2 separate regions of the Homo sapiens genome follow, and region 1 is linked to region 2. The links are contacts of gene promoters, found by promoter capture Hi-C in blood cells and fetal thymus (Javierre and others, 2016). All regions are on one chromosome and are shown on one strand. Each heading gives the region's core, a stretch centred on a gene start or on the middle of the fragment in contact. The rest is flanking DNA. Distances are from core to core; before and after follow the strand shown. Region 1 overlaps CDK18 (cyclin dependent kinase 18). Region 2 holds the start of LEMD1-AS1 (LEMD1 antisense RNA 1).

Evidence for each region. The method cuts DNA at HindIII sites, captures the fragments that hold promoters and counts their contacts. A CHiCAGO score of 5 or more calls a contact.
Region 1: a fragment that was not itself captured here is called in contact with the fragment with the promoter of LEMD1-AS1 in region 2 in 2 of 17 cell types (endothelial precursors and naive B cells); the score reaches 5.9 in endothelial precursors.

What each region holds. Positions count from the first base shown.
Region 1 is chr1:205,517,504-205,523,170 of GRCh38, forward strand. It overlaps CDK18 (cyclin dependent kinase 18), which reads left to right. Exons shown (of 16, transcript NM_212502.3): 2 at 5,644-5,667. The coding sequence starts at 5,665. Among named protein-coding and RNA genes, the nearest start is that of CDK18, 16 kb to the left of the region's middle. RefSeq lists enhancers at 8-707, 3,923-4,748. The HindIII fragment of the contact is 1,315 bases long and covers 3,421-4,735 here.
Region 2 is chr1:205,370,800-205,376,866 of GRCh38, forward strand. It overlaps LEMD1-AS1 (LEMD1 antisense RNA 1), which reads left to right and starts at 2,453. Exons shown (of 4, transcript NR_038425.1): 1 at 2,453-2,635. RefSeq lists silencers at 1,582-1,876, 5,422-5,716. The HindIII fragment of the contact is 1,416 bases long and covers 1,239-2,654 here.

The DNA.
Region 1 (5,667 bases), core at 2,828-5,327, 150 kb after region 2:
ACCACTGTACGTTGAAAATGTCACCTGCCCAACATCCAACTCCTGGTCTTCCCACTGAAACCACTACTCCCAGAATGCCTTGTCTCCTCCAGTGACTGTTCTATCTCTCCACTCCGGCTGCTTGGCGAAAACCCTGCTGCAGAGTCATGCTTGACTCTTTTCTCACCCACAACATACAATCCATCTGCAGAGCTCTTTGCCTCCACCTTCAAAATATAGCCCAAATCCAGCCACTTCTCACCATCTCCACTGCCCCCCGCTGGTCCCAGCCACCATCAAGCTCTCTCCCCTGGGCCTCAGCAGCAGCCTCCTGCCCGGGCTCCCTGCTCTCCCCTTGCTCCCCTTGTCTGTTCTCAACACAGCAGCGTGTTAAAGCCTCAGTGTGATCATGTCACTCATCCGTTCAAACCCTCCTTACCCCTCGAGGCCCAACACAGCTGCTCCGCACTCCCATCCAGCATCTTCTCCAGCCACATCATTGTCCTGCAGTGAACCAGACTTACTTCTGCCTCAGGACCTTTGCCCCTGCTGTTCCCTTGTTGACCTGCTTCTCCCAGACCCTGCATGACTGACCCCCTCACCTTACACCTACTCTGGATTTCTCCTGAGATGTCACCTGCTTCTTGGGGAGGCCTTCTTGACCACCCTACTTAAACTTGCAACTGCACTTCCCACACCTTCCCTCTTCCCTGCATGAATTCCCATCATTGCACTTGTCACCATCCATCATACTGTGTATTCATTCTGTCTATTGTCCGCACCCCCCTACCCCTGTTAGAAAGTATTAGGAAAGGAATTAATGTCTGTTTCATTCATCTGTGGATTCTCAGGGTCTACAACAGTGCCTGGCATGCAGCAGGTGTTCAATAATTGTTGAATGAATGAATGGAGCCAGGGGTGAGAGGGGTTTTATCACGTCATTGCGATTCCATAGCCTGCTAGTGGTAGCACCAAAGTTTGAAACTGAGTTTGTTTGGCACGCAGTTCAGAGTAGGAGAAAACAGTCAAGCCTGGGCCACAGGGAAGGGGCAAGGGCGGGGAGGGCTCCAGGTAGGAGAAGAAAGGAGCAATATGGTCACGTTTGTGCACTTGGCAACAACCAGGAAATTGCTGCGTGATTCTGGGCAAGCCATTTCCCCTCTTGGATGTTCAGCATCTTCACTGGGCAAGGGATGGGGATGGAGGCTGTGTGAGCGTCTTCCCCTGCTAACATTCTGGGAGGCCAGCCCTGCTCACTGGGGGCACAGTGGCCTCTGGCAAGTGCTGGCTTTCTTCCCAGCCTGGCTCCTCCTTCCTCCTTCTGTGCCACCCATGGCTCTGGCACCAGCAGGAGGTTCTGGGCCGGCTGCTGTGTCCCTGGGAAGAAGCAACTGGAGCTGGCTGAGCTTTATGACTTACCTGGGCAGGGAGGTGGGAGGGGAGGTTGGCTGGGGTCTGCCTGCCCACCCTGCAGCTCCTCAGTGGGACTCTGCTCCTTCAACTTCCTCCACCCCCCACTGCCGGGCCAGTATCCCTGGACACTCATCGCCCTCTTCCCCTGGCACCAATTGCACGGGGACAGCCCCAGATGGCTCCTTGGTCTGGGGACAAAGGCTGTGCTGTGCCTGGCCCCGGGCTGGCCTCAGGCTGGTCATACTGAGCCCTTCTGTCCCCACTTGGGGGTGAGGGGTAGATAGCACTAAGGTGACAGGCCTTTTTCCTGTCTCCCTTCCCCCTCGACCCCCAAATCTGAGGAGCTGACTCTCCCAAGGGAAAAATGACAGAGGCATCTTGTGTCTTGACCTAGGGAACAACAGACTATTCACTGCCCAGTCTGCCCTGTCACACCCAAGACCCTGCTGGGTTCAATGCCCTGGTTGTCCCCAGCAGAGAGAGACATCCACTCTGCTGTGGTCACCACCCCCACCGCCTGCTCCCCTGTCACCATCAGGAAGTCCACCCTACATCTGACCTCCATCCTTCCATCAGGAAGTCCATCCTACATCTGACCTCCATCCTTCCATCAGGAAATCCATCCTACATCTGACCCCCATCCCTTCTGCTGCTGTGACAGCCACTTCCTCTCAGGCTCCTGTCCTGCGGGTGGAGAACAGCTGGTCCCCATCGCCTGCACTGCTTGGCCCCACATTCCTGCTCCAGTCAGCTGCCTCTGGCCTCACCCTTCCTCCAGCTCCCAGCCCCACTGTCCTCCCCACCCCAGGCACAGGCTGGTGGCTCCTTGCTCCTCACTGAACCTTAGGGAGAGCAGGTGTGACTCAGGGCTGAATCTCTTTTGTCTTGCAGAAATGGGGGGCCTCCTTCCCGGAGGCTTTTAATGAGCTCCCCTCCCCTCACCCTACAAGCAAGAGCAAGGGTGTGAGATTTATGGTTGCTACTTGTAGATTCCTGAGCCGCAAATCCAACATGCCATCCCATAAATCCCAGACTGCAGGACGGTTTTATGGGGAAGCCCTGTTTTTAGAAAGGGGTGTGGCTGGTCTCCCTCCTGGCAGAGCTCAGACCTCAGGGAGCCAAGTGCCTGCCTCTCCCCACCCCCAGAGAACAACCATGACAAAGCACGGGGACATTGGGGACATCAGTTGGTGTGGTGGAGATGCACTGGCTTCCAGGACAGAGAGACTTCCTCTCCTGTGGGGGGCCTCCTGCTTCCCTTCCCTGCTCTGAGGATCCCCCGTCTCAGCACAGGAGGGTGGCCTGGAAGCCTGGGCAGATAATTGTCCCTGACCTGGACCTTAGATGTTTTCCTGGTCACCGCTCCAGGTGTACATCATTGGAGATGTTTTTTCAAATGCATTTTCCCAGGCACCATTCTCAGAACCTCAGTTCCAGAATCTCAGGGTGAGACCTAGGAATCTGAATTTTTTTACAATGCTCCCTGGTGATTCTGATGTTCAGCTATCTTTGAAAATAATTGGCTGAGTGCTGTGGCTCATGCCTGTAATCCCAGCACTTTGGGAGGCCGAGGAGGGGCAGATCACTTGAGGTCAGGAGTTCGAGACCAGCCTGGCCAACATGGCGAAATCCTGTCTCTACTGAAAACACAAAAATTAGCCGGGTGTGGTGGCGCGGGCCTGTAATCCCAGCTACTCAGGAGGCTGAGGCATGAGAATCGCTTGAGCCCGGAAGGTGGAGGTTGCAGTGAGCCAAGATCACGCCACTGCACTCCAGCTTGGGTGATAGAGCACGACTCTATCTCAAAAAAAAAAAAAAGAAAAAAGGAAAAAAGAAAATAATTGATCTTTACAAGGAGCCATCTCCACTCTCCTATCTTGCTCGGAAATGGGAGTCACCAGGTAGGTGTGTCTGGGTCCTCTTGTCACTGGGACCCACACCCCCTGCCACCATCATGAAGCCTCCAGATTAGATCTCTGTGGCCTGAATGCTATACACAAGTGTGAGGCATGGTGGCTGCCCTCTGGAAGCTTCCTGTCTGCAAGAGTCCTGCAGACAGCAGGCCTGAGACATTGCACAGAGCCACGGAGGAGCGGCTGAAGATGACTGACAGGAAGGAGTTTAGGGATGGGGAGTCAGGAAAGTCCAAGGCTGGTGGGCTCTGCCAAGGAAGCCAGAGGAAGCGCTTTCAGCTACCTTCTCATCAAAGGAGGCATCACCAGCCCCTGAGTTTCTTGAGAATGGGGACCACCCTTTACTTGCCTCTGAAACCCTCATGCCTGGCACAATGCTGGCGCATAGTAGGTGCTCAGTTTTTTGGTTTGTTTGTTTTTTAAGACAGAGTCTTGCTCTGTCGCCCAGGCAGGAGTGCAATGGCGCAATCTCCACTCACTGCAACCTCCGCCTCCAGGGTTCAAGCAATCCTCCTGCTTCAGCCTCCCAAGTAACTGGGATCACAGGTGCACACCACCATGCCCAGCTAATTTTTTTGTATTTTTAGTAGAGACAGGGTTTCGCCATGTTGGCCAGGCTGGTCTCAAACTCCTGACCTCAAGTAATGCACCTGCCTCAGCCTCCCAAAGTGCTGGGATTACAGGCATGAGCCACCATGCCCGGCCAGTTCATTTGTTCAGTGGAACTGAGTGAGACTTCAGGGCCCACTGACAGAGATGGGCCTGCCTAGCACTGCAGACCCGAGGCCTCCACTCTGAAAGGTGCCAGCCCGCTAAAGGAATGAAGGAGAGCTTGTTCATACCCAGCCATGAGGATCAGGGCAGCTGGAGGGCCACCACTGAGCTGTGTTTGGGGGCAGCCAGGAGCATGCGCTGCCAGACAGAGGACCCTTTCCAGGCTGGCTGAGGACAGAAGGATGTGATCATTAAGCAAAGCCAACATGTTACTGACCCATAATCCCTTAAACCAGGAGGATTCGGGAAGGGCCTGGTCGCCTTGGCAACTAGGTGCTGGCCAGTCGCAGGGCTGAGAGCATCCTCCAGGAGTGGGCTGTGCCTGGTGCTGGTGCATGGGTAACAGCTGGGAGCGGGTGCAGGGCGGCCCATCATAGGGCTCACCCCCTGGTGCCTTCTTGCCAGCATGGGTGGAAGCCCTTGTGAGGCCTCAAGGGCAGTGTGTGCAGAGCAGGATGAGAGGGGGGCTGCACTGAGCGTGTAGGAAACCATGAAGGGAAGTGGAGGGGAGGTGAGACAGCGCTGCTCTGGGTTTTCAGGGCAGGAGGGAGAAGGGAGGGTCTGCAGGAAGAAGCAGTTGCATGGGTCTCATTGGGTGGCCAGCAGGGCATCCTCTAATTCAGAGGGCACGAGGAGCTGGGTAGCCTGAAGAAGAAAGCTTTCATGGTTGGGGACAGGACCGTGGGGGTGGGCAGAGCAGCTTACCCCGCTCCTCCATGGTGTTCTCGGTAGGGGATACCTGCCTGCTTGGAGGGCTCTGGCATGGGAAGAGGCCTGCAGGGATCAAGCCTCATCTTCCCTAGGGCTCGACTCTATTAATGGCAAGCTTCCGTGTTTCCCCTGAGACCTTCCACTGCTCCTGACCTCCTGTATTTCAGCTGGAGAGAAGGTGCAGCTGGCCAGCTCTGATGCACTCTTCCCTTCCTCCTCTTTTTCCCCTCTTGCCTCCTGGGGCATGCCAGAGCAGAGACCTTCAGGTGTCAGTATCAGAGGTGAAATGAGGTTTGGACCCAATCATGTCCCAAGGGTGTTGGCCAAGCTGACATTCAGTTTACGGGCCTTGGTCAGTAAGATTTATTGGCTGTTGACACATTCAGGCCCTTGGACACAAGTTGGTAAATTTCTGCTGGTCCAAGGACTGCCTGGTTCTGGCACCCTCCCTGCCACCCCAGCCCTTCCCCCAGAACTCTCTAGACCTCCAGCAGCTAAAGGGCTTAGGTCTGGGGGGCCTTCAGGATCCTCTTTGCACATCATGCCTGCTATTATGACCAATACTTTGCTGGACTAGGTGGTCCATAGAGAACTGCACAGGGCGTGGCGGGGCGGGCGGTGGGCAGTGGAGGCAGTGCTGAGGGTCACTGGGAGGAAGAAGGTGACTGGGAAGAAGAGGGTGAACACCCACCCTCAGAGGGGTCAAACTTTGCAGAAGACACAACCCTGGCTCCCAGTGATGGTGGCATACAGGGCGACAGAGCTTGATGAGAGAGCTGAATTCCCAGTGGGTGGAGACCTGGACTGGTTGCCTTGTTCTTTTCAACTGCTCTTCTCACACTTCCCATCTCAGGACCCGGCTGCCCAGTCCCTCATG
Region 2 (6,067 bases), core at 1,203-3,702:
GAATTCTTGAGGTAAAAGTGAGTTTGGGGCTAGAAAATGCACATGTGTACCCCAGATCTCTGATAGGCTCTGCTAGAATGATGGCAGTGTTGATGCCATTGCACCTGCCTATAGGTGGGTGTACCCTGCCTATGCTGGCATATTCTGGCTGGGCTCCCATAGGTACACAATGTAGAAGGTCAATGGACTTATCCAGATAGTTTGTCTTGGCCAGAACCTGTTATTAAGGGAGATATGTGGGGGTGGGAATGCTGGCAAACAAAGAAGAAAAAAAAGTAGATGCTACAGACTGGTTACCTACAGAGAGGCAGAAAACAGAATCTCACCTGCAGATGTATTTTGTTTGCCCACAGTTTGTTGCTTTTTAAAATTTTGAATTAGTTGCCAATTTAAATAATTAAGACATTTCACATAAATATCCAGAATATTCCCTTCCTCTTGAAAAGTCTGATCACATTCCTGCATGGATGGTTTGGCTGGGCTGGGAGCTACTACCTCCTCTGTACGCTAGGCAAGACCGTGGGCTCACTCATACAAATGGCCTGACCCCCATGGGTGCTTGAATTTGAGACTCCTGATACTTTGGGTGAATGTTGTGGATAGTTGCTTAGTTTATTTTATAATATATATTGTGAAAGGCCAGGCACAGTGGCTCACGCCTATAATCCCAGCACTTTGGGAGGCTGAGGCAGGCGGATCACCTGAGGTCGGGAGTTTGAGACCAGCCTGGCCAACATGGAGAAACCCCATCTCTATTAAAAATACAAAATTAGCCGGGCATGGTGGTGCATGCCTGTAATCCCAGCTACTCAGGAGGCTGAGGCAGGAGAATCACTTGAACCTGGGAAGCGGAGGTTGCGGTGAGCCGAGATCACACCATTGCACTCCAGCCTGGGCAACAAGAGGGAAACTCCGTCTCAAAAAAATAGTGGTAAAATATACATAACAAAATTTACCATTGTAACCATTTTTAAGGGTACAGTTCAGTGGCACTAAGCACATACATGCTGCTGTGCAGCCATCACCACCATCCATCTTAGAACTTTTTTCATTCTCCAAAATGGATATTCTGTACCCATTAAACAGTAACTCCCCATTCCCCACAGTCTCCAGCTCCGGCAACACCATTCTGCTTTCTATCTCTGTGAATCCGACTACTCCAGGTAGCTCATGTAAATGGAATCATACAGTATTTGTCCTTTTCTGACTGGCTTATTTCACTTAACGTAATGTCTTTAAGCTTCCCCATTGCATAGTTTCTGGCTCAGATCATTCTAGTGCTCATTTTACAGATGAGGAAGCTGAGGCCCCACGGGAGCCTGCCAGGGCAGAGGTAGAATTGGATCCTGGATCTTCTGCTTAGGACACTCTCCCTAACGTTGCCCCGTTGAGGTAAACTGAGGAATGGAGAGACCGATATGGCAGAACAGGAGGATATTTATTTTAAGATATGCACCGGCTCAGTGGATTCACATCCAAAAAGCTGAGCATTGAACAAAGACAGAGCGGGGTTTTTATAAGCGGGCTTACAAAAGCAAAACAAAGGCAGTTAACCATATAGTGCATAACTTGTGGCCTTGCATAGCTGGTGGCCTTGTAGCTGAGACAAAAGAAAAACAAGAACTAGCTAAATACAGACATTTGTAAAACATAGTTATGCTTAAGAAGCCAGGGAAAGGAGTAACAGTAAAGGAATTTGTCTTTCTTTTTTTTCCTTTCAACCTTGCTCTGGAGGAAGGAGTGGGTGTCTGGAGCCCATTCCTTTGGCCTTGGCTTTTCGGACAGCCTTATCTTATAACTGTCCTTGAAGTGAGCTGCTAAGCAGAGGAAAACTTGCTTCTTTTCTTTTTAACCCTTGCCTTGCCTGTTACTTTTCTCGGAGTGAATTAATGCATATTTATTTTTAAATTTCTGCCTCAGCCCTTCTTAGACCAGATCTCACCTTTCTTTTCTAGTAATGCAAGTGAGAGCAACATGTTCTTCACAGCAGCAAAGCCATCCCTGTTCATACAGGTTGTGGAGTTACCCTTCTCTCTGCCAATTTGAAGGGTTGCCCAACATTAATCTGGGAAGGGAAAAAGGCTGCCTCCTAATCAGAACAGTAATGAACATTAATAATCCATTCTCCTTCAAGAGACAAATTTAAAAAAACCCAGTAGCAATAAACTAAAAAAAAAAAAAAAAAAAAAAAAAAAAAAGGACAAACTCATCCTTTCCCCTCCACATATTTTTAGCTAACTCTTGAACCCAAGGAGGATTTTACCAATGGCTCTCCAGGAATTAGAGTTGTCACACCAGTCTCCTGTTGCCAGGAAATGAGGAGAGCTGTCCTCATCCACATCTGCAGTACCTAGAATAGCCCCCTCTGGCTCTCCAGAGATTGATTCATTAGGCAGGGTTGTGTTTAGGTGACGCCCACAAACGAGAACATTCATAGCAGCCATCATTTCTCAGTGAATGCGGTCCTGTAAATGCTGGCGATCTTGTAGCAGTGCTGATTAGCGAGTTGCTCCAACACCTCCTCATAATTTTTTCCTGCTCATCACTCACCTGCTTTGTCAAAATGAACAAGAAGGAAGCATGATTGAGCTGTGCACCGAGGCGGCAAGGAAGCCCTGGATGACCCTCTTAACAGGTTCATTTCTTCTTGAGCAAGCTTGTTAAAAGTTAGCATTGCTTAACACAGGCTAATTGGCTTCCCTTTCATTTTCTTCCATCCAAGTTTCTATCGGGAATCTTCCTCAGAATAAAATGCCAAGTTGGTTAGGCACTTTCTTATTTTAGTCTTGAGATTACGTTCTTGCTTCAGGAAAGAGTCAAGTTTAATTTTACTTCCAAATCAGCCCCTTCTTGTTACTCTAATCAACAAGACTTTTCTTGGCTGGGAGGTAGGGGTAGGGGAGGAAAGGAAGGGAGGAAAAAAAGCAAGAAAAACAACCTCCTAAACATCAACAATCATTTTTCTTGCATGTAAGATTATCAACTACTATAGATATAAACATTGTGGTCTAGCACTTCTTTATTTATGACTGTGGCAATGAAAATAACTTGGTACTTAACCAATTATTTTTAAGAGGTGGTAGCACAGTATTTCTTTGAATGTCGAAGAACAGAAATAGAGCCTTTAAGAATTTCTTCCATCTGCCACCCTGAATATTGACTGGGTAGAGATTTAAACAGCATGCATGCAATAGAATTGGCCTCATCGCCCCATCTGTAGAACACAAGCCTGTGAAATCCAGTGTGTCTGTGTGACATGCAATTAGCTCAATCCTGTTTCTCCAGCCAGGGCTCCACTTCATTGTTTGGCCATGGGATGGAGAACACCTTTGCTGGGTGGCAGGATTGACCCTGCTGTAAATAGTGACATTTATAGGAATGAGGACTTTGGATGCCGTGGGAATGACAGTGTGTTAGAAGGCTAAACACTGCATAATGAGGTTGATTGGGAATGCCTTTCAACAGCAGTTTGCTCATTTTAGGGACTTCTCATCACAGGGATAAACAGGAAGCAAAATCTGGGGTATTGGTTTTGTGGTTTCAAATGTCTATTTGAGTTGGAAACTGCTCAAAATGGAAATGGGCTCTTTCTGGAGGTAGCACAGACATCACTTCGAGAGGAGATCCAGAGATGATTAAGATACAGTCCTCGACACAAGGAGCTCCAAGATTTGTAGGGGAGGCAGACGAGTCATTGAAATTGAAAAAATAAAACACCTCGCTGGCAAGGAGTTTGCTCTTGACAAGAAGAAATCAGTCTCTAGACTAATTCTCTTCCTATTGCTGAGACTAGAGCCCTGCCTTGGAATTTGATTTGGCCCAAGGTCAAGAAAATCTCAAGATCATGGGTCCTTGTATAGCTGGGATAGGGGTGGGTCAATGACTCTGCTGTTGGAGAAGGCACTGAGGTAAGGCCGGTTTTTTACGTACCAGGTCCCCAGCTGTGCTCTAGAAACTGCAGAAACAGAACAAAGCATAAGATTTGAAAACAAACAAATACACTCTGCACGTTGGAAGCAGGAGAAATCTTGGCATAGTATGCTGTTGTGGAGTGAGGGAGATTTTTCTCTTTCTTTATATAGATTCAGGCAGGATTGTGTCTGAGACCAGCACTACGTCTGAATCATTGTGAGTCACTGGGAGGGAGGTATAACTGTGCCCTGTAAGCGGGTCTCAGGGTGGAGAATCACTCTGAAGGATTAAAGGTGGGGCCCTTGGAAAACGATGAATCCTGAAGCAGAAAGCAAAGCTAGCCACTTCAATGCACTTTTAATGGGGTTAGCACTTTTCATTTTCCTAGGATTCTGGGAATGATTCATTTAGCGTTTGGTGTTAAGGTTCTTCCCTCCCCACATTTCAATTTCATATACATTTTCCCTTCCATCTAAAATGTCAGAAAAGCCTGTTACACAGCCTGTGTCACTGTATTGTGGAGAATGTAGGGACAGGGCAGCAGTGGGAGAATTGGCCTGGCCTGCATCAGCTCTCTGCGGAGGTCAGCTTGATGGCAGTGATCCTGGGATGTCAGTCAGCCTCCACTCCCTGGACCTATTTTCCCCAAATTACCAGGGAAAGGTGAGCCTTAAAAAGAAGATCATGAACTGGGTGCAGTGGCTCACACCTGTAATCCCAGCACTTTGGAAGGCCGAGGCAGGTGGATCACCTGAGGTCAAGAGTTCAAGACCAGCCAGGGCAACATGGAGAAACCATATCTCTACTAAAAATACAAAAATCAGCTGGGTGCGGTGGTGCGTTCCTGTAATCCCAGCTACTTGGGAGGCTGAGGCAGGAGAATCACTTGAACCTGGGAGGCGGAGGTTGCAGTGAGCTGAGATCGTGCCACTGCACTCCAGCCTGGGTGACAGAGTGAGACTCTGTTTCAAAAAAAAAAAAAAAAAAGAATCATAAAACACTTGGGTCACATCACAAATACTCAAAAAACAGGGCAAGTGCATTCTTAGAGTTTTCTAAGCAGAGAGGTTTTAACTGTTCCTCTTCACCCCCGATTCCCCTGTCCTATCTATTTGCACTGGGCAATTGCAGCCACAATTCTGTTCTCCCTGGGAGCCCCACAAAGCTATCTCAGCCACCAGCCAGCACCTCATTATTCCTTCTCTGCTGCTTTTGCTCCAGTAGCATTGCCCCATTCACTGCCCGTATCAAAGGCACCCACATTGGGCTGCCCACATCTGTTGCTGCCAATACACTGCAAACTGACCTGCCTCTCCCCTGTCCCAAGTCCCTCAAGGGATTCAGCACACAGCTCCTTGGTTTGGCCCCTCCTTAGAAGCCTGTCTCTCCAGCTCTCATTCAGGGGGCTGTGGCAACTGACACGGAAGACATTCAGGGAGGCAGACACTGTTAGTCCTTAGAAGAGTTACTTTTCTTATGCATTGGCTTCCATTAAAGTTCAAACTTTAACATAGACCATATTTTCCTTCCTATGGTCCCAAGACCCTCTATGATCTGAATCCCACCTTCTTTTCCAGCCGCATCTCTCCCCACCCGCTTCACTCTCTTGTGGCTTCCTAAACCTGCCATGCAGTCTCTCACACACTAGTCTTTGTAAATACTGCTCCCTCGCCTGGCAGACTTTTCCTTTAGCCTCGCCCACTTTTCCCTTATTTGGACTGAGTCCTACTCATCCTTCTGGCTTCAGCTGTGATACCACTTTTTCTAGGAAGCTACCCCTGTCTATTCCCAATATAGGAGAAGGTTGCTCTTTTGTGCTTCCAGGGTACCCTATGCCATCATCAAAAGGATGTCACTTAACACCGTACTATCTGTTGACTTTTCCATCTCTCCTGTCAGACTGTGTGTTCCTTAAGAGCAGGAACTATATCCTATACTGATTAAAAAAATTTTTTTTTAGAGACAGGGTCTTGCTCTGTCACCCAGGGGGAGTGCAGTGGCACAATAATAGCTCACTGCAGCCTCCTTGAAATCCTGGGCCCAAGTGATCCTCTGGGCTCAGCCTCCTGAGTAGCTAATTTTTCTTTTCTTCTTCTTCTTTATTTTTTTCGTAGAGACAGTCTTGCTATGTTGCTTAGGTTGGTCTTCAACTCCC